Regions from separate parts of the Homo sapiens genome. Here all the other regions are linked to region 3. Evidence: promoter capture Hi-C in 16 types of primary human blood cells and fetal thymus (Javierre and others, 2016). All regions are on one chromosome and are shown on one strand. Each heading gives the region's core, a stretch centred on a gene start or on the middle of the fragment in contact. The rest is flanking DNA. Distances are from core to core; before and after follow the strand shown. Region 1 has its middle 5.2 kb from the start of AP3M2. Region 2 overlaps RNF170 (ring finger protein 170). Region 3 holds the start of NSD3 (nuclear receptor binding SET domain protein 3).

Evidence for each region. The method cuts DNA at HindIII sites, captures the fragments that hold promoters and counts their contacts. A CHiCAGO score of 5 or more calls a contact.
Region 1: a fragment that was not itself captured here is called in contact with the fragment with the promoter of NSD3 in region 3 in 1 of 17 cell types (naive CD8 T cells); the score reaches 5.4 in naive CD8 T cells.
Region 2: a contact is called between a fragment that was not itself captured here and the fragment with the promoter of NSD3 in region 3, in 1 of 17 cell types (naive CD8 T cells). The highest score is 5.8, in naive CD8 T cells.

The regions. Positions count from the first base shown.
Region 1 is chr8:42,145,865-42,149,802 of GRCh38, forward strand. No RefSeq gene overlaps it. Among named protein-coding and RNA genes, the nearest start is that of AP3M2, 5.2 kb to the right of the region's middle. The HindIII fragment of the contact is 901 bases long and covers 1,165-2,065 here.
Region 2 is chr8:42,891,877-42,896,182 of GRCh38, forward strand. All of the region lies in intron 1 of RNF170 (ring finger protein 170), which reads right to left. Among named protein-coding and RNA genes, the nearest start is that of MIR4469, 2.2 kb to the right of the region's middle. RefSeq lists an enhancer at 3,846-4,306. The HindIII fragment of the contact is 264 bases long and covers 2,097-2,360 here.
Region 3 is chr8:38,380,758-38,384,764 of GRCh38, forward strand. NSD3 (nuclear receptor binding SET domain protein 3) reads right to left here and starts at 1,514. Exons shown (of 24, transcript NM_023034.2): 1 at 1,042-1,514. It also overlaps a transcript of LETM2 not described here. RefSeq lists enhancers at 37-571, 862-1,652 and silencers at 1,301-1,700, 1,731-1,880, 2,071-2,420. The HindIII fragment of the contact is 5,398 bases long and covers 1-4,007 here.

The DNA.
Region 1 (3,938 bases), core at 365-2,864, 3.8 Mb after region 3:
AAGTAGTAAAGGCATTTTTGATTTAATGCCATGGGAATGCATTGATGGGTTCCAAGCTGCACATAACTGTTTACAGTTTTAAAAGCTCACTTTTGCTGCTGTATAGAAAATGGATTGGAGGGGTGAGAGTAGAAATGGGAGACCAGTATGGCAGCGGTTATCATCTTTCAGGGAAGTGGTGATTGTGGCCTGGACTAAAGTGATGACATTGCATTGGAGAGATTCTGAATTCCTGATGTACATTGAAGATAGAATCCACAGGGTATGCTTCTGATTACATGAGGGGATGAGGGTAATGGAGGACTTGAGGATGACTCATGGGTTTGAGTAGCTGGATGGATGGTGGTATTGTTTACTAAGCTGGGGAAAACAGTTGAGGTTGGAGATACATCGAGAGCTGTCATCATTAAAAGGGTATTACACTCATGAAGCCATCTAGGGAGAGTGCAGAGAAAGAACCGCGGAGCGTCTACTAACAAGCCACAGAATAATGCCATGCCCCTGAGGTGAGGGTGTGGCCTCATGATTGGATATTCTTGTGGCTAATCATCTGGGGAAGGGACCATTTGGTGCAATAATTATGTCCCTCAGGAGACTGGAACCAGGAGGCCAGCCTGAGGCCACCAGGAGAGGGAGGCTGCTGTCTCCTTGTCAGACAAGGTTTGGATTTCAGGAACTCCAGATGGCTTGCCGGGGCTCCTAGGTGAGAGGAGGTACACAGCATCCCTGTCCCCTGGAAGCAGGTGTGCATCCCATAGAGACATCTAAGATGCCCGGATTGGATCACATTTGTGAGCTACATTTTTAGTTGCATGTTACTCTTTCTGCTCACTTCCTTTCTGTTATCTTCAAGTCTTTTTTTTTTTTTTTTTTGAGACTGAGTCTCGTTCTATCACCCAGGCTGGAGTGCAATGGCACGATCTTGGCTCACTGCAAACTCTGCCTTCCAGGTTCAAGCCATTCTCATGCCTCGGCCTCCCGAGTAGCTGGGATTACAGGTGGCCGCCACCATGCCCAGCTAATTTTTGTATTTTTAGTAGAAATGGGTTGGCCAGGCTGGTCTCGAACTCCTGACCTCAAGTGATCCGCCCACCTCTGTCTCCCAAAATGTTGGGATTACAGGCGTGAGCCACTGTGCTCGGCCTATCTTCAAGTCTTTAGACAAGCTTTGGATAAATGTCCATCCTGGTCTCTGCTCTGCTATAGGAAATTAAACAAACAACAAAAAATAGTGTGTCTTAAATGCCATTGAAGAGTTAAAGGGATACTGACCCTCCCAAAACCAGTATGGTGGTGGGAGCTGCAGCCAGCAGTGAGAGGTCCCTAAGGGGAAAGCGGATCTCTTTTTCTAGAGTAGGGCGTCAGGTTCAGTCTCTCCTCTCCACATGGACAGGCTCCTTTCATGGCCAGGCTTAAAGGAGCTGGTTTTTTTTTTTTTTTTTTTTTGAGATGGAGTCTCCCTCTGTGGCCCAGGCTGGAGTGCAGTGGCGTGATCTTGGCTCACTGCAACTTCTGCCTCCTGGGTTCAAGTGATTCTCCTGCCTCAGCCTCCCCGAGTAGCTGGGACTATAGGTGCATGCCACCACACTGGGCTAATTTTTTTTTTTTCTATTTTTAGTAGAGACAAGGTTTCACCATGTTGGCCAGGCTGGTCTCGAACTCTTGACTTCAGGTGATCCACCCGCCTTGGCCTCCCAAAGTGCTGGGATTACAGGTGTGAGCCACGGCGCCCGGCCTGGTTTTGATAAGGGGAGCAGTCTACACTTTAAATCCCCCCTCCACTTGACTGTATGTTCCTTGAAGTAACATAGAGTACCGCATCTTTGTACCCGCAGTGTCCAGGAGGTTGTAAGCACTCCATCACTGTTAGTTTAATAGGTGATTGTTCACTAGACATTGTGAGACACACTGTGGTTTCCCAAAGAGCTTAGAATCCAGATTTGGTCAGCAGATGCACATGTTGATGCATGGCAGAGTGTGCCCGCTCTGTAGGTTACATGAAAGAGCTGGGAAATGCTCTTTGATCACAGAGGAGGGAAACATTACTCCCAGTGTGGGGGCAAGAAGCTTCAAACAGACTTTGTGGAGGAGGAAACATATGGCTGGGCCTTGCGGGCTGGAGCGAATTTCCAAAATAGGATGAGTAAAAGACAAACATGTGCCAGGTAGAGGGCTCCGTGAGAAGGGAGGCATGAGGAGAAGGCATTCCATTGCTTCAGTGCATGACCGGTAGTGAGGTGTGTTGCAAGGAGAGCATACGTGTGAACAGGGAGGAAGTGGCAAAGACGCAGAAATGATGTTGCAGCTCTGAAAAAAATGTCTTTCTGGGTGGGCAAGGCCTCTCTTGTCTCAGACCAAAAATGAAATATAAATAAATAAATAAATAAATGGTTCCCAGTGAATCCTGATAGCTAGGATTAACTTTTTATGGTAGAAAAATTTCTCAGCAGTGAGAGCTGTTAAACATTAGAATGGTTTGTGAGTGGCAGCTTTAGGAAATCTTTCCCTAGAGATTTTTATGCACAAAATAGACTGACTTATCATTTGTCAATGATTTCCTGTGGCCTCTCTTAAAGTCATGGGAAAGTATTACATGAGCTCTCAGATTCTATGTTACTTGATTCAATTCAACAAACACTTGAGTGTCAACTTGGTTCATGCCCCCAGGCATTGCTATATACTGGATTCATGCGCCCTCCCCGCAAGGGGCCTCTCTTCCAGTGATCCCCATCTCAACACATGATGCTTCCATCCATGTCATTGCCCGAATCAGAAACCTACTCTGCCTCACCACTGACATTCCATTAATCCCTAATCCCTATCTTCTCTGGAAGGTGTCCACTTCTCTCTAATCCCTGCCTCATGGCTCCAGGCACTAGCTCTCTCCTAGGGATTACTGCAATTGTCTAAATAACCTCCCAGCCTCCAGGCTCAGCCTGTTACAGTCCATCCTGCACACATAGTCTTTCTGAAATGGAAATCTGAAAGTGTGCCACTCTCCTGCTTCACATTTCTTCAATGGGTTCCTGGGCTTAGAGGTAGGAAGTGTGGAATCTGAGCCATTCTGCTCAGATCTTCCAACGTCCTTGAATCACAGCTTTGCTGTTCGACCTTGGGCAGTTATTTAAGCTGTCTTTGCAGCTTCCTCATCTACGAAAAGGGGATCACAACGGTAATTCATTTTAGAGTAGTTGGGGGGATTAAATGATTTCAGATCCTCCTCTCTTATGTGAACTCTTAAATTTGGAGTGTCCCTGGAATCTGGTTCTCTTATCTCTCCACACTCCTTCCCTCGGTCATCTCAACAGGTCCTACTACTTTAAATATCCATATACTGAAAACACCCAAATTTATATCTCAAGCTCAGCCCACTCTCCTGAACCCTGGACTTATATGTCCAGCTGCCTTCTCAACATCTCCACTTGGATAGTTAATGGAGCTCACAGATATATTGATATACTTTGGATGTTTGTCCCCTCCAAATCTCATGTTGAAATGTGATCCCCAGTTTTGGAGGTGGGTCTAGCAGGTGTCATGGGGTTGGATCCCTCGTGAATGGCTTGGTGCCCTCCCCATGGTAATGAGTGAGTTCTCACTCTGTTGGTTTATGAGAGAGCTGGTTGTTTAAAGGAGCCTGGCACCTCCTCTCTCTCACTCCTGCTTTCACCATGCAACTGCCCGCTCCCCTTTCACCTTCTGCCATGAGTAAAAGCTTCCTGAGGCCTCACCAGAAGCTGAGCAGATGCTGGTGCCACGCTTGCATAGCCTACAGAACCATGAGCCAAATAAACCTCTTTTTTTTTAATATTATAAATTACCGAGTCTCAGGTATTCCTTTATAGCAAGCTTGTCCAGCCCAAGGCCCATAGGCTGCATGCGGCCCAGGATAGCTCTGAATGCAGCCCAACACAAACTCATAAACTCTCTTAAAACATTAT
Region 2 (4,306 bases), core at 979-3,478, 4.5 Mb after region 3:
AAACCAGACCATCACCCTCCCTAGGACACAGTTTCACAGTTTCAATTCTTTCAAGTATGAATTACTTTAACAAGAAAAATAAAGCCAATACTTGCTTCCTCTCTCGATATGCAAACTGAGCTTCAATGCCCGGTCAATGCCCATTCTCATCTACCACCCAGTCGCTCAGTTTCCTGACGGTGCCTACTCCGGAGGCACCTACACTGACCTAAGTGGCATGACTGGCATGTCAACTGCTAAACACTCTCACTACACCACAAATTTCCTTCTTGAAAAACAGATATTGCTCAAATTAATGTTTATAAATTTTTAAAATTTATTTTTTGAGACAGGGTCTTGTTCTGTCACCCAGGCTGGAGTGCAGTGGTGCACCCTTGGCTCACTGCAGCCTCGACCTCCCAGGCTCAATCAGTCTTCCTGCTGTGACTACAGGTGTGCACCACTAAGCTCAGTTAAATGTTTTATTTTTTGTAGAGATGGGTTTCACCATCTTGCCCAAGCTGGTCTCCAACTCCTGGGGTCAAGGAATTTACCCACCTAGGCCTCCCAAAGTGCTAGGATTATAGGCGTGAGGTAGCACGCCCAGCCAAAAATTAATGTTTATTGGTGCCAAATATTTACAGAATCCACAAGTGACTACAGTTCAGTTTTAGAATATGTAGATACTGTGCTCAATTGCTTCACCCTCAAAATTTTATTATTATTAATCACAGAATGTTAAGCACTTAGTTCCAAGCATATAAAGTAATATCTTACTGGATTTATTTTTTCATGTTATTTGGAGGCTCTGTTGCAGCGTTTTTTTTTTTTTTTTTAAACCCTAGATTCAGGCCAGTGCTGTGATTCACGCCTGTAATCACAGCATTTTGGGATGCCAAGGTGGGTGGATCACTTGAAGCCAGGAGTTTGAGACCAGCCTGGCCAACATGGTGAAACGCCATCTTTACTAAAAATACAAAAATTAGCCAGACGTGGTGGCACACGCCTGTGATCCCAGCTACTCGGGAGGCTGAGGCATGAGAATTGCTTGAACCTGGGGGGCAGAGGTTGCAGTGAGCCAAGATCGCACCACTGCACTCCAGCCTCGGTGACAGAACAAGACCTTGTCTCAAAAAACTGCCCAGATTTGATCATTACACATTGTACATATTTGTATAAAAATACCACAGGTACCCCATAAATATGTACAACTATTATACATCTATAAAAATTAAAAATACATTTTTAAAGAATGAATTCCTTTCAGTCAGGAATCATATCTTATTACTGTTAGTAGTGCGCAGGGTCTTACATGTTGTAGTGGCCACTAAAGGTTGTTTACATTAAACCCAAAAACAAGGTTATTAAATGTATAGAACATGGGATGTAATCTATTTCATGGTATCCTGTAAAATATGAAAAGAAGAGTTACTAATACTCGGTTTTGAACTGTTTAAGATTCACAAAAACTGAACCCCATCCATCTTGGAAACTGTGCAGTGTAACTGATAGAAGTTTGCAGAGAAACTGGCTTTGCTATTGCTCAGCTGGCTACATCTTATTGAGCAGTATCTTCAGACAGCAAACAAGCACAAGTTCCAGAGTCAGACAGCCCTGGACTTACATAAAGTTTCAGTCTCAGCTTCCTCATACGTAAAAGGCATTAGGTTGAACCATATCAAACTGCCACTCTTTTTTGGGGCGGGTGTGGCAGGGGAAGTGCTTTGCCTTGTGAAGTTTATAATGAGATAATGAAGGTAAGGCATTTAGCATACTGCTTGGCACATCATATAGGCTCTCAGTAAATGGAAGCTACAGTGTTTGGTTAATATTATTAACAACCGCCAAGGAATCATGATAAAACTAGCCATGTTTTGATATGATAAAAACTAGCCATGCCTGCCCCAGAGCTGCTCCACATAGCATCTCAAACTCTCTTTAATCACAGCTCTAAGTATGTGTTCCCTGGGAAGACAGGATGCAATCTGGAGCACTGTCACACAGGACATGCCCTCTTTAATCTGATAAGCAGCTGTGGGTGAGAACTAGCCTCCAACTAACCGGAGTAACCAGACAGCTAAGACAAGTTCAACTCACCTCTCCTCAGGCATTTCCAAAGCTTTCAGGGAAGGAAAAAAAATAAAACACACAGAGAAAATAGAAAAATAGGAAATTCCGGGACTTCCTGGAACAAAGGAGAGAATCTCAGTGTCTTTTTACCCCAAGGCTTACGTAGAAACTCAGCAGCCACATGGCTTCTGCAATTACTCACATCCAAAAAGTTTTTACTAATTTCTTTCATCAAAGGTAACTGGAATTACAAAATGAAACCTCCAGAACAACGTAACATCATGCACAAAAGCACTGTGGATATGCAGCCAAGCTTGAAAAAGGAGACTTTAGGTCCATTGTGTCAAAGCCTTGAAAACCGGGGCCACTGGAGGAAGGGTGCTCAGGACGGCACAACCACAGTCGCTCCAGTAGGGCCAGCATCTTATCTGCCCATCTAAAGACAAGCTGCATGTGAGTCAGGAGTAAGTCAATGTGACATATACTCACTGACTTCATTCACTTGCCTACAAGATTATACGTCACTTAAAAGTGCTAGAGATTCGACAGAAATAACCTGATAAGGAATGTAGGAACTCTAGTTTGACAAATATCCAGAGGCACCAACACAGGAACCAAACACAGGCGAGACACACATGTGTAATTTTTTTTTTCTTTTGAGACAGATTCTCGTTCTGTCGTCAGGATGGAGTGCAGTGGCGCGATCTCGGCTCACTGCAACCTCAGCCTCCCGCGTTCAAGCGATTCTCCTGCCTCAGCCTCCCGAGTAGCTGGGACTACAGGAGCCCGCCACCACGCCCGGCTAATTTTTGTATTTTTAGTAGAGACGGGGTTTCACCATGTTGGCCAGGATCTCTTGACATCGTGATCCGCTCGCCTCGGCCTCCCAAAGTGCTGGGATTACAGGCGCGAGACACCGCGCCTGGCCACGTATGTGTAATTTCTAAAGGTTTCTCTGCCCTTGGTGTAGGGAAGAATGTTTGAAAAAAAGACCATTGAGAATACTTCAGGTAAGTTTTTTTTTTTTTACACTTACAAAATGCTAAATGATCAGGGGTCAACTATCAAGTGGTACTCTGTAAGGCAACCTTAAAAACTCACTGCTGACCCAGGCTCGGTGGCTCACACTTTTGATCCCAGCACTTTTGGGAGGCTAAGGCGGGCGGATCACTTGAGCCCAGGAATTTGAGACCAGCCTGGGCAACATAGCGAGACCCCCTCTCTACAAAAAATAAGAAAATTAGCTGAGCATCGTGGCCTGCACCTGTGGTTCCAGCTACTTGGGAGGCTGAGGTAGGAGGATCACTTGAGCCCAGGAGGCAGAGGTTGCAGTGAACCAAGATTGCGCCACTGCACTCCAGAACGAGACCCTTTCTCAAAAACCACCATCAACAACAACAAAAAACCCCACTCAATGCTGTCTTGGCAGTTTTCAGTGCTCAATGAGAAAACCTACTCTTAATGGAAAAAAAGTGGGGGAAAGGGGTTCCAGGAACTACAAAGCAAAGTGTGTCTTGGGAAGTTAGCTTTGTTGCACTCCAAATAAAAATTTGGCATTGGGTGGTAGTTATGCATACTCTACGCATCGACAATTCTCTAAGGACTCCAAAGTGCATGTCCTGGAAATTCCAACATATTTGCACTACGTTCCAGGTACACTAGAATGTTTATAGCCATGTTCTGAGTGGCCTCAGTCTGAACAAAATGCCCAACCAGAGTAGAATGGATTCACTGTTCTATTCACACTGGAATACTAGGCAACAATTAAAATTACCTATACATACACAGTACACCAATTTAATACTGATTGAAAACCACAAAACAACACACTGTGATCCACCCGCAAAAGTTCAAAAACAGGCAAAGGAAAACGACATCGCATGCACACATAGATGGTAAAGCTGTAAGGAAATGATCACACTAGTCAGGCTAGGAGACAATCAGGCTCCGAAAGGAGCACAGGGCATGGGTGAGAAACTCCTGGGGTGCCGGTAATGCCCTTTTCGTTTTTATCTGGGTGTTTTATTAATTCTTCTTTAAACGTGTATGTCGTATGCACTTTTCTGCGTATGCTATATCTGTTAAAAATTTATCGGCAGCCCAGCAGACAGATTCGTGCCTCTAAAGAGGTGGAAGCTCCAGAACGATCCGCCTCGCCATTAAGCGAAGGCAACTCCGAACGCTGAGAAACGCAGGCCCGGGGTCGGCCGGTGTCCTTACGGATTGGCGAGCGGGCGCACACCCCTCCTGCATTAAG
Region 3 (4,007 bases), core at 264-2,763:
AAGGGGGCTAACAGTCTGAATTGGCCCCTTCCAGATTCATACTGATGTCGGAGAGGAAAAGGAATTTATTTACACTGCAGTGCCTTGGCAGCAAACATGGCTGCCCCTGCCCCCTTTAAATCGAAATAATCTTCACTCCCTCCCCAAAACCATCAAATTATGGCCATGTCTCTCCCTGCCTCCCTTCCATAACACAAACACATCGCCTTCTCCCTCAAAACAGTAAAACCCACACCTCCCCATTTCACAACAATCACAATCCCATAACCACCAGCTTCTCTATTCTCTAGCCTTGAAAGAAAGACACAGAATACACACAAATACAGGAACAAAAGGCCTCCCTTCCTAACACTTTAACGACCTCCATCCCCTTCTCTTCCTCCCACTCTGACGCTAAGTCGATCGTTCTCATCCCTGTCATCATTCAGTTAATTTCCTTCCCTAGCCCAATCCTGTCTTCCAGTTTCCTGCGTCTATTTCCCATTCTCCTATTGCAGCCTGCCTCATCCCCTTTCCTAATCCACCTTTTCCTTCACTTCCATTCCTCATTTCTCCCTTCATTCCCATAAAATGCCCCATTTCTCCAGCAAATTTATCCCCTTCTCCCAGACTCTTCTGGTTCCTACACTCCATCCCCAAATCTCCCTATTTATCAGTCCACCCAGGTCTGTAATCTCCATGCAACTCTTCTCCCCTTTCCCTGCCCCTCCCCGATCCATCCTTATCCCCGCCCCCATCCCACTTTCCCAATTCCCAGCTCAGCGCCACTCCGACTCCCATCCCACTCCCCACCTCCCCTGGCCCACCCCCCAATTCCCTCCACACCCCCCACCTTGCCATCTGCTCCTCCGTCAGGACTCCCCTCGAGCCCTTTCAGGCCACCCGCTTCCCCTTCCATTCCTCCTGGGGTCTGGCGCTCCATCCCTAGGTCGCCCCCTCCCCGTCGTTCCCTCCTCAGCCCTTCCTAGCACTACACACGCGCGCGCGCGCACACACACACACACACACACACACACATACACACACGCACACGCACTTTACCTTCAGTTTGTTCCATTCTAACCCCCCGGCCGTGTCAGTGCGATCACAGGAGAGACACGGAGGCCCGGAGTGGGGCTGGGGTGCGGGCAGCCGCTGGGGCCGCGCGAGGAGGAGGCGGAACCGAGCTAGGCCGCATGAAATCCCCGGGCTAGATTTTCCCCGCGCCGGACGCCTCTGCCATGGCGGCCGGCACTGAGGAGGGCCACGGCCGGGCCGGGCCGGGCGTGCTGCGGGAAGAGGAAGGCTCGGGAGGTGGGATGGGAAGGGGAGGCCGAGGGACGGGGGTCGCCGCGCCGCCGCTGCTGCCAGAGAGGAGCCTGCGGCTGGCAGCCCGGCCTGGGTAGCACGGTCCTCGGCGCTCGGCTCGGAATTCGCACGCCTCTCCGCGGCGACCTGTGCACAGCCCCCTCGGCCTCCGCCTCCGTGCTGGCCGCCGCCGCCGCCTCTCCCGCCGCCGCCGCGCACAAAGCCCCCCCACCCCGACTCTCGGGGCGCCGCCGCCGCCAAATCCTCAGCCCCTCATTGGCCGCGGGCCGCGGCGCCTGCCGGGAAATGCAGTCCCTGGTTCGGGACGCTGGGGCTCCGGAGGAAGCGGCGAGTCGGCGGGGCGGAGGGGGCGGGAGCGCGAACCAGGAACGCCCGCGGCAGCTAGCGTCTGGACGACTAGGGAGACCGGGCGAGAGGGCCGAGGAACGAGGGACGGGGAGGGACTGTACGTGGGAGAGTGACACACAAAACACCCCGGGAAGCCGGAGGAGGCGTGGAAAGGTGGGGCCCGGGAGGTAAAACTGGGATCGGCGCGTTCAGTGAGGCTGATTAAAGAACAACGCGCAACCAGCGCCATACGGCGCTCCTCAGGGTGACTCGGCTCTCTAGCTCTTAAGGGTTAGAAGCGACCCTCGCACGGTCCCCGGTGGGTCACCGCGCGAGGGCGGGGCAGTCCAGGCGACCCCTCGGCCGTCTCCCGTCCTACGGCTGTCAGGGAAGGGCTCCGGTTCCGGTAGGGTCTGCATTTGGAAAGCCGGGGGCGATGCAAGACCGCCTTGGCGTCGTCTCCCTCTCAGCCCCGGCTGAGCTGTCGGATGGTCCCCCTCCCCCGGTTGCAAGCAGTAGGAGACCCGGCCGGCGGCGCCGGCTCGCCGAGGGAGCGCCTCGACCTCCCCGGCAGGCGCCGGCCCCGCGCGCCTCTTCCTGCTCTGCTGCGGCCCGGAGGCTTGTGGGTAACCGGGAGGACGACGTCAGCGCCCGCCGCATCCCCGGGTGCCCCCCAGCCGCGGGGGACCGCGACGGCTCCGTGACCGTCACGTGCCGGAGGCCGCGGCTGCTCGCGGCCAGACCTTCGCATCGAGGGACGTGAGGGACATTTGTCCTAGAGGGCCCAAGATAAGAACGAGAGGAAGAACCGGGAGGCAACTCTCCGTCATCCTCTAGCCCCCCGCATCCTAGGAAACGTATGGAAAACAATGGAAGGTTAAGTGTGTGCACAGTGATCTGGCCCTGCAGGAGTGTGCCGACCAGGTGATATTTCCTGGGGCCTGGTGATAAGGATTTGGAAGGTTACAGCACAGAGACGTGAACGTAAAAAGGAAACAGAGGCAGCAAGCAAATGAGGAAACCGATACTCTGTTCTGAGAATAAAGCCATTTTACCGCTAGACGTCATACTCTGTAGACGTTATAGTGCTGGATGTCTTTGGTACTATTACAAGAAATTAGATATCTCTATCTTTAAATATCACTTAAGGAAATTAAATGATTTCTACAGATCAGTTATTTAAAAGGGCACTAATTATGAACTATTTTTTTTAAACGTAACCCGGTTAATACTAGATACTGAGAATTATCAGTATTGGCTGGGCGCAGTGGCTCACGCCTGTAATCCCAGCACTTTGGGAGGCCGAGGCAGGCGGATCACGAGGTCCGGAAATCGAGACCATCCTGGCTAAGACGGTGAAACCCCGTCTCTACTAAAAATACAAAAAATTAGCCGGGCGTGGTGGGGGGCGCCTGTAGTCCCAGCTACTCAGGAGGCTGAGGCAGGAGAATGGCGTGAACCCGGGAAGCGGAGCTTGCAGTGAGCCGAGATCGCGCCACTGCACTCCAGCCTGGGCGACACAGAGAGGCTATGTCTCAAAAAAAAAAAAAAAAATCTCATTACTATTAATCATTAAATATTTTTAAACGTATGCTTTAAGTAGTACCACAAGTTACAGCTATCAGTAAAAGCATACTTTTTATTTGTGATATGACATTTTAAAACACAGATGGCCAAAGCGGGCCACCAAGTCTAGCTTAATTCTATCTCCAGGAAAGAGGGATTAAATTGGTCTTTTTTTTTTTTCTATGAGCCTTTCTACCTCCATTCTTCTTTTTCTTCCTCCTGTGTCTTCCTTGCTTTGTTGATAAACTGTTGCCTTGACCCGGCACCTGGGTTTCTCCCTTGAGGAGAATCTAGTAAATTGTCCCCAGGGATCTTATATTAGCCTGTTTCTAATAGCTATGCTGACAGCAAGAGTTTAAAATTGGAGTTATGTGAAGTAGATGCATAGTCTTTTCCTGCAAAACATTACAAAATACAGTTAGTATACTTGATCTGGTGGCATATTTAGGAAAATGGCCATTAAAAATAATAGTTTACATTTTCAGTATCTAACATCTTCTGAGGTTTAGACGATGCTTACTGTTCGCCATAGAAAATGAACAAGGAGCTCATTAAGACAGCAATCTAACACAATTCTCAGGGCCAGAGTCATGGAGGAAAAAATATTTTTTTAAAAATTTCTCTTCTGAAGATTACATACAGAATCTTACATGATAAATCTCTTATCCTGAAAGTCAAAGAAATTGCCAAGTCTCATAACTAGGGAAGACGGACATTACTTTGAACAGATATCTCAATAAGAAGAGTTCTTAGCCCTTCCCTTTTTAGGATAGGATTGCTGACATATGGCCATGGTAGAAAACCTA